Linked DNA regions of Homo sapiens: all the other regions are linked to region 2. The links are contacts of gene promoters, found by promoter capture Hi-C in human tissues and cell types (Jung and others, 2019). All regions are on one chromosome and are shown on one strand. Each heading gives the region's core, a stretch centred on a gene start or on the middle of the fragment in contact. The rest is flanking DNA. Distances are from core to core; before and after follow the strand shown. Region 1 overlaps USP43 (ubiquitin specific peptidase 43). Region 2 holds the start of STX8 (syntaxin 8). Region 3 overlaps STX8 (syntaxin 8).

The links. Contacts are between HindIII fragments. The study calls those that stand out against the background at their distance.
Region 1: a fragment that was not itself captured here is called in contact with the fragment with the promoter of STX8 in region 2 in 1 of the 25 tissues and cell types used here (lymphoblastoid cells).
Region 3: a contact is called between a fragment that was not itself captured here and the fragment with the promoter of STX8 in region 2, in 1 of the 25 tissues and cell types used here (mesenchymal stem cells).

What each region holds. Positions count from the first base shown.
Region 1 is chr17:9,711,242-9,716,154 of GRCh38, reverse strand. It overlaps USP43 (ubiquitin specific peptidase 43), which reads right to left. Exons shown (of 15, transcript NM_153210.5): 14 at 4,023-4,187. Among named protein-coding and RNA genes, the nearest start is that of USP43, 68 kb to the right of the region's middle. The HindIII fragment of the contact is 7,150 bases long and covers 1-4,913 here.
Region 2 is chr17:9,573,727-9,578,187 of GRCh38, reverse strand. It overlaps STX8 (syntaxin 8), which reads left to right and starts at 2,368. Exons shown (of 8, transcript NM_004853.3): 1 at 2,368-2,396. The coding sequence starts at 2,380. CFAP52 (cilia and flagella associated protein 52) reads right to left here and starts at 1,546. Exons shown (of 14, transcript NM_145054.5): 1 at 1,423-1,546. The coding sequence starts at 1,492. RefSeq lists enhancers at 1,284-1,413, 2,206-2,385. The HindIII fragment of the contact is 7,753 bases long and covers 1-4,461 here.
Region 3 is chr17:9,369,908-9,374,917 of GRCh38, reverse strand. All of the region lies in intron 7 of STX8 (syntaxin 8), which reads left to right. Among named protein-coding and RNA genes, the nearest start is that of STX8, 200 kb to the left of the region's middle. The HindIII fragment of the contact is 5,571 bases long and covers 716-5,010 here.

The sequences.
Region 1 (4,913 bases), core at 788-3,287, 140 kb before region 2:
GCTGAAGGAACACAAAGGCTAAAGATCACACACTCACACAAAGACACACAAACACACACACACAGACATACAGGCACAAACAATACACACACAAGCACACTCATACACACAAACACATTCTCACATACACAGACACATACACACACAGACACACACACAGATACACAAACACAGACACACACACATATACACAGATACATACACATAGACACACAGAAACACACACACAGACACATATACACAGATACATATACATAGACACACAGAGACACACACACAGATACACAGAGACACACACAGACACATATACACAGATACATACACATAGACACACAGAGACACACAGATACACAGACACACACACACAGAGACACACACATAGACACAAACACGCAGACACATACCTACAGAGACACACACACACACACACACATACACACACAGAGACACACACAGACACACACACATACACACAGACACACACACAGGCACATACACATAGAGACACACACACAAGAAACACACACACAGACATACACTCACAGAGACACACACACAAAGACACAAACACACAGACACACACACAGAGACACACACACACAAAGACACAGACACACACACAGACATACACACAGGCACAAACACACATACACAGACATACAGTTCTTACATAGTAATGCTGGTTTTTTTGTTTGTTTTTTTGAGACAAGGTCTCACTCTGTCACCCAGGCCGGAGTGCAGTGGTGTGCTCACAGCTCACTGCAGCCCTAACTTCCCAAGCTCAAGAGATCCTCCCACCTCAGCCTTTTGAGTAGCTGGGACAACAGGCACATGCCACCATGCCTGGCTAATTTTTTATAGAGATGGGGTCTCACTATGTTGCCAGGGCTAGTCTTAACTTCTTGGACTCACGCGATCCTCCCACCTTGGCCTCCCAAAATGCTAGGGTTCCAGGCGTGATCTGACAACGCTCAGCCTTAAGGACTTTGTTTCTGTGGTTACCCCCTTGTTCCCAGCACTGTCATCAACATCTCCCTGTAGACCTGATCATCTGAATGCGTCTCTACTATCTCCTACTTAGCTGTCAACCCGCCTTCCTTCAGTCACCTCGCCTGCTGGAGTGTGTACACACTGCCACTTCCTCCACCCCAGCCTCTGGTCCACCTGCTGCAGGCAGGCCTCCCTTCTCTCCAGCCATGGCAGATGCTCCTGGCAAGTCACCGGTGGCCTTCCAGCCTGATGGAATCTACCCATCCTCACCTTACTCAGCCTCTCAGCAGCATCCAGTACAGTTGGCTGCTTCCTTAAGATTCTCTTTTTTTCATCTGTCAACCACACTCACCTGGTTTTCTTCCCCTCACTGGCTGCTCCTTCTCCGTTCTTTTCTTGGCCTCTCCACCTTTGCTCAACCCTTAGATGTTGGAGAGCCCCCAGGTTTGGTCTCGGGTCTTCATTTTTTTTTTTTTTTTTTTGAGATGGAGTCTTGCTCTGTTGCCCAGGCTGGAGTGCAGTGGTGTGATCTAAGCTCACTGCAACCTCCACCTCCCAGGTTCAAGCGATTCCCCTGCCTCAGCCTCCTGAGTAGCTGGGATTACAGGCGTGCGCCACCATGCCCAGCTAATTTTTTTTGTATTTTTAGTAGAGACGGGGTTTCACCATGTTGGTCAGGCTGGTCTCGAACTCCTGACCCCATGATCTGCCCACCTCGGCCTCCCAAAGTGCTGGGATTACAGGCGTGAGCCACTGTGCCCGGCCTTCATTCTTTTTCATCTGTACTATTTCCCCAGGGGAGCTCAGCCAGCACTGTTCCATCCATGTGCTGATGACTCTCAAATATTTCTCTCCACTCCCCAGTTATCACATTGATGTGATGTCTTAGCAGGGTCCCCCAACCCCTGGGCTGTGGACAAGTACTGATCCACAGCCTGTTAGGAATCGGGCCACAGAGCAGGAAGTGAGTGGTGAGCAAATGAGCGAAGCTTCATCTGTATTTACAGCTGCTCCCCATCACTCGCATTACCGCCTGAGCTCCGCCTCCTGTCAGATCAGCAGGCGTATTAGATTCTCATAGGAACACAAAGCCTATTGTGAACTCTGCACGTGAGGGATGTAGGTTGCATGCTCCTTATGAGAATCTCATGCCTGATGATCTGAGGTGGAACAGTTTCATCCCAAACCATCCTCACCTCAAGTGTGTGTAAAAATTGTCTTCCATGAAACCGGTCCCTGGTGCCAAAAAGCCTGGGGAATGGTGTCTTACAGGATTTTCAAAATTACTGTGTCAAAAAATTCTTGACTTCCCTCCAGAATGGAGTGTTCCTACCCAACTTTCTCCCACCTCATTAACTGTGCAGCAATTCCCCTCGTTATTTAGACCTTAAGCAAGGAGTCATCCTTGACTATTCTCTTTCCTTCACACTGCACACCCCACATCAGCAAATCTTAGCAGCTCCAGCTTCAGTATACATCCAGTTTGACCATCTCTTATCTAACATGCTAGTTCAAACCACCACTGTCTCCCACCTGGATATAACCATGTTAGTCTCCTGAATGATCTTCCTACGTCCCCACTCTTGCCCCCTGTGATGTCTTCTCCACACAGTAGCCAGAGTAGACTCTCTACAAACTATAAATCAGATCAACCACTTCCCTGCTCAAAACTCTAAGCTAAAAAAGTTGATTTTATGGAGGTAGGGAGTAGAATGATGGTTGCCAGAGGCCGGGAATGGGGGCAGATGAAGAGAGGTGGGTTGATAGGTACAAATAGGCCAGGTGCGGTGGCTCATCCCTGTAATCCCAGCACTTTGGGAGGCCGAGGCAGGCAGATCACGTGAGGTCAGGAGTTTGAGATCAGCCTGACCAACATGATGAAACCCTGTCTCTACGAAAAGTACAAAAATTAGCCAGGCGTAGTGGCAGGCGCCTGTAATCCCAGCTACTCTAGAGGCTGAGGAAGGAGTATTGCTCGAACCCGGGAGGCAGAGGTTGCAGTGAGCCGAGATCATGCCACTGGACTCCAGCCTGCGACAGAGTGAGACTCTGTCTCAAAAAAAAAGTACAAATATACAGTTAGATAAAATAAGTTCTCATGTTTAATAGCACAGGAAGGTGACTACAGTTACCAACAATATATTGTATATTTCAAAACAGCTAGAGAGATTTGAAATGTTCCCGTCACAAAGAAATGATAAATGTTTGAGGTGATGTATATTCTAAATACCCTAGTTTGTATGTAATGAACACATTGTACGCATGTATCAAACTATCATATGTACCCCAAATATATGTACAATTATTATGTGTCAATTTTTTAAAAACAATGATTAAAGCAGAAGCATTAACAAACAAACAAACAAACAAACAAACAAAAACACCTCTCCACTCGCTATCCACTACACTTAGAATAGAGTCCAAACTTTATACCTCTAGCTCAGAAAGGTAGGTTCTAACATGGCCCCTGTCCACTCCTGCTCTCTCTACTCCTGGGTGTCTCTGCTCCAGCCACAGCTCTGGTTTCTTCTGCCCCTCACACATCCAATGCTCACTCCCAGCCTTCACCCTGGAGGGCTCCTCTCCTGGAACATAGCCCTAGGCTTCTACACAAGTCACTCTCTCTCACTCAGAGCTCTGCTCAGTGTCACCCCCTAGAAAGATGTTACCCGCCCGTCCTATCTCCCGGGCCCTGTGCACCCTCCCTCCTCCACCCCGGGCCTGAATACCCTCTTCCCTGATTCTCTTTGCCATTCTCCCTTCTTTAAGTACCATGTTCCCAGGTTTACTTGCTTATGACAATAAGCTACACGGGGGCAGAGAAAAGGTACCTGTGGCTGGAGGGTAGAGGATGGGGAGAAGCGGGCAAGGAAGGGCAGGTCATAGAAGACCCCATTTAAGAGATGAACAAACCTCTCGTAATGATGGACCCTTTCCATTCAAGACTACGAAGTGACAGCGCTTTCATACTGAGCAATAACAACAGACATTACAGAAAATGAAAATCAACCAAGCACATTTAACCAACATACCCTTTTCCTGATTGCAGAGGCTGTTGGTGAAGATGGGAGAGTCAGGAACCTGGGGCAGGGAGGGGCAGGGGGCAGAGCTCCAGGACAGCAGGCTTCCCCTTGTGCTGCCAGCGTGGCTCCCGAGCCGTAAGAGCCAGTGATCAGACAGGGAGGAGCTGGTAGAGCCTGTGGAGGAAACACAGAGAGGGAGGCTGAGCCCAACCCCAGCACTTCAGAGTCCTAGCGGAGCATCTCACAACCAGATCCCCATTCCGGCCCCATCCTTCAGCCCCAGAACTACAGAACCAGAACAGAACTGCAGAAACCTGTCAACAAGGAGAGGGGAAACCTGTGATCGGGTTTCCCATGTGACTAAGCTTAAAAGTTTAGGGAGAGGCATTTGAGCACAAAAAGGAAAGCATGGGCTGGGCGCGGTGGCTCACGCCTGTAATGCCAGCACTTACGGAGGCCGAGGCGAGCAGATCACCTGAGGTCAGGAGTTCAAGACCAGCCTGACCAACGTGGTGAAATCCCATCTCTACTAAAAATACAAAAAATTAGCTGGGCGTGGTGGTGGGCGCCTGTAAATCCTAGTTACTCAGGAGGCTGAGGCAGGAGAATTGTGTGAACCTGGGAGGCGGAGGTTGCAGTGAGCCGAAATCGCGCTACTGTACTCCAGCCTGGGCAACAAGAGCGAAACTCCGTCTCAAAAAATAAAAAACAAAACAACAACAACAACAAAGGAAAGTATGTTGACAAGTTTTGAAATGCTTTCCATGAAATTACTTATCACCAGCTTTGGCATTCTAAATATGTTTTTTGTTTCTTTTTCCAGAGCCAAAGTACTGTATTACTCAGAGCTGTAGTCAGAGGCAGAGTAACAGTATTTTATTACCAGTACCAGGGCCCCAG
Region 2 (4,461 bases), core at 1,119-3,618:
ACACATGTGTTGGGACCACCTTCATGAGTATTCATAGCTCCTCCTATAACCTGTTGAATATGTATGTTTGTTTGTTTATTTATTTATTTATTTTTTGAGACGGAGTCTCGCTCTGTCCCCCAGGCTGGAGTGCAGTGGCGTGACCTTGGCTCACTGCAACCTCTGCCTCCCAAGTTCAAGTGATTCTCCTCCCTCAGCCTCTCAAGTAGCTGGGATTACAGGCACCTACCACCACGCCCGGATAATTTTTGTATTTTTAGTATAGATGGGATTTCACCATGTTGGACAGGATGGTCTCGAACTCCTGACCTCAGGTGATCTACCTGCCTTGGCCTCCCAAAGCGCTGGGATTACAGGCATGAGCCACTGCCCCCGGCCTCAGTTGCAGAGTTCTATGTGTGTGGTTCTACATTGGCTCAACAAGTGACATTATGCAACCCACTGTAGGCTGCTCAATTGTTTCTCAATGATCTTGTAACCAACTCTCAAGATATCTGATATCCGAAATGTATAAAGCACTCACTTTCTATTGGAGACTGTTAAAGTTAAACCAAGAGTCAAGAGCTAAGTCCTAGAGTATGCTTAAAACTTTAGACAGTGATTGTTCTGCATCCACATTCTTAAAGCTTTCAGGCATCACAACACACATTTTTGAAAAGTTTTGCTTCTCCTAAAATCTAATTCATTGTTTTCTCATCCCTCAAAAAACCAAAACCCCTCAAAACGAACAATAAAACCCCACAGCTTTTTCTTCCCAGAATCTTCAAAACAATAGGCAGTCACAAATAAGATTTCAGCGGAGCGGCCCAGTCCCTTTTTCTCTCCGCTTTAGCTCCCCCTGGCGTCCCCTTCCCCTTCTGTCCTGGTCTGAAATCCTCATCATTTAGAAACCTTCCTTAGGATTAGAGGACCAACAACATCCCCTCAGGGGGTTGCTCAAACACACGTTCCCTCCCAGCCCTTTCTCACTGGTACGCCAGTTGGGATTTTAGCAGATTTCCTAGCTGGTCCCAGGGGCCGACACAGACAGCATCCTTCTGTGTGGTTACGAAGGAGCCTAGGGCTTTGCGAGCGGCGTGGGGTTCAGAGCCAGGAAGGGCTGACCTAGTGGGAGAAGGGTTACAACCACCCGTACTCATCCGGCCCGCCTGGGGAAGAGGCATTTGGTCCCTTTTAGGTGCTGGCGCTTGTCCGAGCTGGTAAAAACCATCTCACTCCCTGAGGCTTGGATCGAGGAAGTGACTCTCCAAGGCCTTGGGGCAGGTCAGGCTGTGCGGGTCCTCCTGTGCGTGTCCCTGGCCAGGGCTCCTGCCGTTGTCCCACACTGCCTTTCAGGTGTCCCCGGTGTCTCACTATTCCTGTTTGCACTACACGTCCTCCGAATTCCTAAACCAGCCAGCCCAAAGATGCTGGAGGCCTCACCATTGAAGCCGATCACGGCGTCAAGTTCCAGCTCCGCCACTTGGGCCTCCGGCGAAATTTTGTTATCCATCCTTGGGAGGTTCTGATTACTTTGCTCTCCTCCCTAGTGGCTGCAGCGTCTTCTGGTCGTTATGGTAACGGACGAGCGCATGCGCTCCAGCTCCACGCCCGCGCAGAAACCCAGCCTGCCGAGTTCGAGTTCATTAGCATTCTTGGAAATGAAGGGGTATGGGGACTGGAAGAGAGATGGGGTGGGACTCCTCTTCTTTTTTTTTGTGCTATTTCTCTGGAAATTTAGGGGATGGCACTAACTGCGCAGAACTAATTCCTCCATCCCCTTGTGTAGAGTCTGTGACTTCTTAGTAACTCTAAAATCAAGCACCGAATGAATGGCATTTAAAAAATATGTAATCAGGCGTACAGGACTGATAGGAAGGCTGCTATAAAAAATATATATAATTGATACTTCTTTGGGCCCCTGTTTGGAGCAGTGTGAAAAAAATTTTAAAGATTTTTTAAAAAGCGTTGAGGTATAATTTACATATCATAAAGTTAACTTAAAGTAGGTTGTAGTGAGTTTACGCAGCGTGCAAGTCTCACCGCAATCTAGTGTTTTGTTTATTGTTTTGTTTTTGAAGCAGGATAAATTTTTAAGTAACTGCTACAGAGAGGTCTTGCAGCGCTCCCACCTTCCTGGGAAAATGCTTTGTTTCTATTTAACAATTTTAACTGAGCTTAGCAGTTCGCGTCTCTTGGTGGGAGTAGATTGCTCCAGTGTACTGTCCGCAGGGGAGCGCTTTGCTTTCTCTGATTATAGTTCTGAGGCCCTAGCTACTCACTTTGCAAACTCCAGGCTCCGGTCGCGCACGGGACGAACTGCGGGGAGTGAGCCGCGCGGGCCGCCGTAGTCAGCTGCTAAGAGCAGGAAGAGTCCGAGCGGCGGGCGGAGTCTGCAGGATGGCACCGGACCCCTGGTGAGTCCCGGGTGAGGGCGGCGGTGCGTGGAGGGACCTTCGGGGAGGCCGGGCTTCCGGAGAGCAGGCAATCACTTCGCATTGCCGCTGGTGGCCTTTCGGGATGAGGGGAGGGGCAGCGAGACCTTTCCTTTACTGAGGGGGCTCAGCCACATCCCGCCACACTTGGTCCTTGCAAGGGTGGCCCGGGAAGGAGACCAGGTGGTCCGCTGGAGAGCTGAGGACTTACGCCAAATCTCTGAATATTCCTTTAGCTTTTCTGGGCTGCATCTCGTTGCGGGGATTTCCCGCCCATCCTGGTTTTGGAGCTAGCTGGCTGGTGCAGGCTTCCCTGGACTCCTATAAAAGTGAAGTCGAAATAACGTTTTTGTAGCATGTCAGTCCATCCCGGTAAACCCCCTTATTTCACAGGTGGAGAAACCGAGGTTCAGAATCCATGGCCACCAGCCAGTTAGTAACCAGCTGGGGCTAAGACCTAGATCTTGGGGGCCCTTCCAGATACAGGAACCTGGGAGGGAAATTGTGCACTTGTTTATAAGGCATTTTGCACTTTCTTGAGTTAATATCATGAAGTCTTTTCCTTTAGCAGTAGCTTCTGCAGTAAAACAATAGCTGATAAGGGTGATTTATTTAGCAGTTAATCCCAAGGACTGCATGATGAAAGATGCAACTTTTGATCCCAAGGAACATATTGTTTGATCCCAAGGAACGTATTGTTATTGAACATAGACTTGACCTTTCTGCTTAATAATTAAAAACATATTACAGCTCTATAACGTTCTTGTTGGAATATGTGTCTTATGTTGTTATTTCTAATATAGTTTATAATTGTTTAAGTTGCCCACATCCTGGATATTAGAAGAATGGATTCCAAGAACAAAGTTGAGTTACCTGGAATCTAGGTTATTTGGGCCAATTATTTAATTTAGCATTTACTTTTTTAAACCTAATTTTAGGCCGGACGCGGTGGTGGCTCACGCCTGTAATCCCAGTACTTTGGGAGGCCGAGGCAGGCAGATCACCTGAGGTCGGGAGGTCGAGACCAGCCTGACCAACATGGAGAAACCCCGTCTCTACTAAAAATACAAAATTAGCCGGGCATGGTAGTACATGCCTGTAATCCCAGCTACTCGGGAGACTGAGGCAGGAGAATCGCTTGAACCCGGGAGGTGTAGGTTGTGGTGAGCTGAGATCGTGCCATTGCACTCCAGCCTGGGCAACACGAGCGAAACTCCGTCTCAAAAAAAAATAAAAAACCCCAAAATCCCTAATTTTAACAGTTATATACACCCCTTGATAGAGAATATTCAATTTAGAGAATATTGAAAATTTGCAAAAAGGAAAATAAATAGCATCTTTAACTCTATAATTTGGAAATAGCCATTAATGATTTTTTTACAATGAATTTGTTATTTTAATCTATATTTTTATATATATATATAATATAAACAGCATTTCTCTATGTCATTGGACATTCTTTGAAAGCATAACTTTCTTTTCTTCTTTTTTTTTTTTTTGAGACGGAGTCTTGCTCTGTCTGTCACCCAGGCTGGAGTGCAATGGCGCGATCATGGCTCACTGCAACCTCCACCTCCTGGGCTTAAGCAACTCTCCTGCCTCAGCCTCTGGAGTAGCTGGGACTACAGGCGCACGCAGCCACGCCCAGCTAATTTTTTGTATTTTAGTAGAGACAGGGTTTTACCGTGTTGCCTAGGCTGATCTTGAACTCCTGAGCTCAGGCAATCTGCCCGCCTTGGCCTCCCAAAGTGCTGGGATTACAGGTGTGAGCCACCGCACCTGGCCTCATAATTGTCTTATGTTGCAAAATAATGCATCACATGAATGACCATAATTTATTTTTCTCCTATTAGTTTTTTGTTTTTCTGATGTTTTGTTTTGTTTTATCATTGCAAAGGGAGTCCCTTTGTTCTATCTCTTATTTCCTTGGGCTCCCTGTCTAGAAGTAGGAATTAGAACTGTTGAAAGTGAAGCATTTATACTTTTTTTGTTATTCTCAATCAGTTTGACTAAGTGGCTTTCTCATTAGACTGTTGAAAGTGAAATA
Region 3 (5,010 bases), core at 2,252-4,751, 200 kb after region 2:
TAATTTTTGTATTTTTAGTAGAGATGGAGTTTCACCATGTTGCCCAGGCTGGTCTCAAACTCCTGACCTCAGGTGATCTGCCCACCTTAGCCTCCCAAAGTGCTGGGATTACGGGTGTGAGCCACCGCGCCCAACCTCTTTATTCTTTTAATGGAAATACTTTAGAGATCATTATTTCTGTTATTTCTTCAATTCTTTTTGTAATATTTACTTAATAATTTTATCAGTATTATGGATCAACAACCAAGTAACTGTACTTATTTCCTATGCCTGATACCTTTACAGGACAATTTTTGCATTTTATATATGCATTTGTTGACATGCAGTGCTAGTTTTTGCATGTCGATGAAGGTCAGCATGTGGTCTCTAAAGCTGTACGGGGGTCAGTCAAGTATTTAAGCCTCTCAGGAATTTCCTTTTAAGCCTTCAACTGATCAATATTATGCCTGTGAACACAAAGCATATTGTGGAACTTACTGAGTAGGTCTAGCAACTCTTGGCAAAATTAACCTGACCTGTTTAAAAAAATTTCTTTTGGCTGGGCATGGTGGCTCACGCCTGTAATCCCAGCACTTTGGAAGGCCGAGGCATGTGGATCACCTGAGGTCAAGAGTTCAAGACCAACCTGGCCAACATGGTGAAACCCCATCTCTACTACAAATACAAAAATTAGCCAGGCGTGGTGGTACACGCCTGTAGTCCCAGTTGCTTGGGAAGCTGAGGCAGGAGAATCGCTTAAACCTGGGAGGCAGAGGTTGCAGTGAGCCGCGATCGTGCCGCTGCACTCCAGCCTGGGTGACACAGTGAGACTCCATCAAAAAAAAAAAAAAATTAATTGTGGTAAAATATATATAGCATAAAATTTACCATCTTAACTACATTTAAATGTACAGTTCAGTGGCATTAAAAAAAAGAAATTCTAGAGATAGAGTCTCACTTCGTGGCCGAGGCTGTCCAGAACTTTTTTTTTTTTTTTTTTAGATAGAGTTCTGCTCTTGTTGCCCTGACTGGAATGCAATGGTGCAATCTCAGCTCACTGCAACCTCTGCCTTCCGGGTTCGAGCGATTCTCCTGCCTCAGCCTCCTGAGTGGCTGGGATTACAGGCATGCGCCACCACATCTGGCTAATTTTGTATTTTTAGTAGAGACAGAGTTTCTCCATGTTAATCAGGCTGGTCTCAAACTCCCAGCCTCGGGTGATCCACCCTCCTCGGCCTTCCAAAGTGCTTGGATTACAGGTGTGAGCCACTGCGCCCAGCCACTTTTTTTAACATCCCAAACTGAAATTTATCCAAGACAATAATTCCCTATTCCTCCCTCTTTCAGCCCTTGGTAACTACTTTTCTACTTTCTGTCTCTGTAGATATGATTATTCTAGGTACCTATTGTAAGCGGGATCATATGTATACTTTTATATCTGGCTTATTTAGGGTGATGTCTTCAAGATTCATCCATGTTGTAGTGTGTATCAGAATTTCATTGCTTTGTAAGGCTGAATAATAATTCCATTTTATGTATATATCACATTTTGTTTATCCATTTGTCAGTGGACACAGGTTGTTCCACCTTTTGGCTATTGTGAATAATGCCACCATAAATGTTGCTGTACAAATAGCTGCTCAAGTCTTTCCTTTTTTGTGTATATATACAGAAGTGGAGTTGTTGGATAAAATGGTAATTCAGTTTTTAAATGTTTGAGGAACCTTCATATTAGCCTGGCTTGGTTTTGCTTTCAGCCTCTAAACTCTTAGGTACTTTCCAGTATTTTCTTTTTCTTTTTCTTTTTCTTTTCTTTTCTTTTTTTTTTTTTGAGATGGAGTCTTCTTGCTCTTGTTTCCCAGGCTGGAGTGCAATGGCATGACCTCAGCTCACTGCAACCTCCGTCTCCCAGGTTCAAGCTATTCTCCTGCCTCAGCCTCCTGAGTAGCTGGGATTACAGGCATGCACCACCACGCTGGGCTAATTTTTGTATTTTTGTTAAAGACAGAGTTTCTCCATGTTGGTCAGGCTGGTCTCGATCTCCTGACCTCAGGTGATCTGCCCACCTCAGCCTACCAAAGTTTTGGGATTACAGGCGTGAGCCACCGCGCCTGGCCCACTTTTCAGTATTTTCCTTAAAAAAAAAAAAAAAAAAAAAATGAGGGCTGGGCGTGGTGGCTCATGCCTGTAATCCCAGCACTTTGGGAGGCCGAGGCGGGTGGATCACAAGGTCAAGAGTTCAAGACCAGCCTGGCCAACATGTTGAAACCCTGTCTCTACTAAGAATACAAAAATTAGCCAGGCGTGGTGGTGCGTGCCTGTAATCCCAGCTAGTTGGGAGGCTGAGGCAGGAGAATCGCTTGAACCCGGGAGGCAGAGATTGCAGTTAGCCGAGATCATGCCACTGCACTCCAGCCTGGGCAAAAAAGCATGACTCCATCTCAGAAAAAAAATTAATAAATAAAAATAAAAATAATTTTTTTAATCTGATAAAGCCAGACACTTCTGTAGCCTGAGAGGGGCAGGCAAATGGGGTGGAAATTTAGTCCCTGGGCACCCACTCTAATTAGGAAATGTCATGGGAGACCCTTCCCACAAGAAACTGGGACCCCAAAGAGCTACACCCTCAGAGTAAAAGTGAACCAGAACTAAACTTACCATGGGGGGTTGTGGAAAGGGCAGCGTTGGCACTGAGCAGAATAGGAGAAGAAAAAGACGGGAGGGAAAATACAGTATTGACAACTTGTGGTCACAGAAAGGCCCACATGTGAATTTGCCCCCTGGACATACATACTCAGGGTAGACCGGGAAACATCATACCATGAATTTGGTTTGAGGCAGACTCACCTGTTATAGCTCGAGGTGCCTGGCAAAAACAAATGAAATGCCTCTGGAGGAAAGCATATTCTAGGATGCTAGGAGCCAACTAAAAATAAATTTCTAAGGGCAATGACCAGCACATAGTCAAATATATTCTAGCATACCCGGAAACAGCACAGCATGAGTGAGGACCAGCAATAGACCATGGACATGAATCTGAACAGAATTGCAGTAGTAGAATTATCAGACGTTGATTATAAACTCAATTCCACTTTTTAAAATATATTTTAAAAATGACAAGCTTGAAAGCATCTTAAGAAACCCGAAAACTATAATAAGTAACACAGAAATTTTGAAAAGGGACCAGATAGAACTTCTAGAAATAACAGGTAACTGAAATTAAAAAATCCAGTGAACATATTTGGTATCAGCAGAAGAAAGAATCAACCAGAGGACAAACCAGAAGAAAGAAAAAAAAAAAAAGCATAATCCATTTGATAAATGTTAGCATCTTGAAGAGAATGCCCAAATGCTAGGCAGTTAAATTATGATCTTAATAAGAAAGGCGTTTGAGGGGCAGAGGGTTGGTGCAAGAGCTTCGAGATACAGCGAAGAGTTAACCACCTGCTCTTCTCAAGTGCAAAGCCACATTGGCTGTTTTATATATGAACACATACAAATGCATAATCAAACTGCAAGCAAGGTGTACTTTAACTATAGGGGGTGGGAATTAAGCAGCCCAGTGGAGTGTAACTCAATTACCATTCACAGGGCAATTCTATCACTGTTTAAGAGGACTTGGGTGCAGTGTGGATAGCAGCCGCCACATCATCATTTTACACAAAGGAGTGTAAAAATAGGTTGTGAATCATGAAATGGCCTTTTGTTTCGCTACCCTTGGCATATCTTCCTTGATGGGCCGATGTATCAGTCATAGATGCTTGAGCAGTGAGAGAATTTCTAGTTATGAATACAGACTGAACTGCAAGGGGCCACACAGGAGAGAGGCCCGATGATGAATTTGTTTGTTCAGTTCTTAACAAGGGATTCAAGTACCTCTTTGTGAACCTTTCACTCAGGAGCACAGGCTTTAAAATTTTTACCGAGATTTTTGTGTGGATTTTCCTCCCTTTTCCTCCCTCAACCCCACCCCAATGATAGCATCAAGTAGAAAACAATACTGTTTTTTTTTTTTTCTAGCTTCTAAATGCAAATTAGACTGATATTTTTCCACTGGTACCTCTATGTATTTTCAGATCTGTTACTTCCATTAAGGACATTTACATAAAAGTAGGATCTTTGTAATTGCAGTTTAAATATTCAGTGTGCTTGGTCCTCATTAGAATTCAAAATAGAGCCTTGTCTGAGTCTGACAGAGGGCGCCAATTGTGAAAGACCAGACTAAGAATTCTGAATGACTCGGGTGGATGTACAGTCTTGCTTCTCAGCATATTGACTATTACGTAATGTTGTCTAAGCACGTTTATTGTGATTTTAGTAGTGTTTCAGTGATGTGGTTAGAAATCAACCCAGCTGACATTGCATTAATGCTGTCTCAATCGACGACCATTGGATCTGCCTTCAGCTCATCTGAATGTGATCTTCTTAGGGAGGTGGGGCAGGACCCTGGTTAAGAGTAGTAGCATGCAGCACAGGTGTGGCGTCCGACAGTCCTGGGGCACAATTTGGGATCTGCCACTTACAGCCTGGGTGACTTAGAGAGCTGCTTGCCCTCTCTAAGTCTCAGTTCCCTTCACTCTAAAAGGAGGATAGCAATTAGTAGTACATGTGATTGTTCTGTAGACTAAGTGAGAACAGTTAGGTGGCACAATGACTAGTACTAGTGAGTCCTTTATAAATGCCAGCTATGATAAGATGTGGGGTTTAATTCATTTTTGTTTTTTGAGATGGAGTCTTGCTCTTTCGCCCAGGCTGGAGTGCAATGGTGTGATCTCGGCTCACTGCAACCTCCGCCTCCTGAGTTCAAGTGATTCTCCTGCCTCAGCCTCCCAATTAGCTGGGATTACAGGTGTGTATCACCATGCCTGGCTAATTTTAGTATTTTTTAGTAGAGACGGGGTTTCACCATGTTGCTTAGGCTGGCCTCAACCCCCCAGCCTCAAGTGATTGCCTGCCTCAGCCTCCCAAAGTGTTGGGATTACAGGTGTGAGCCACCGCACCTGGCTTGCTTTTTTTCTTTTTTCTTTCTTT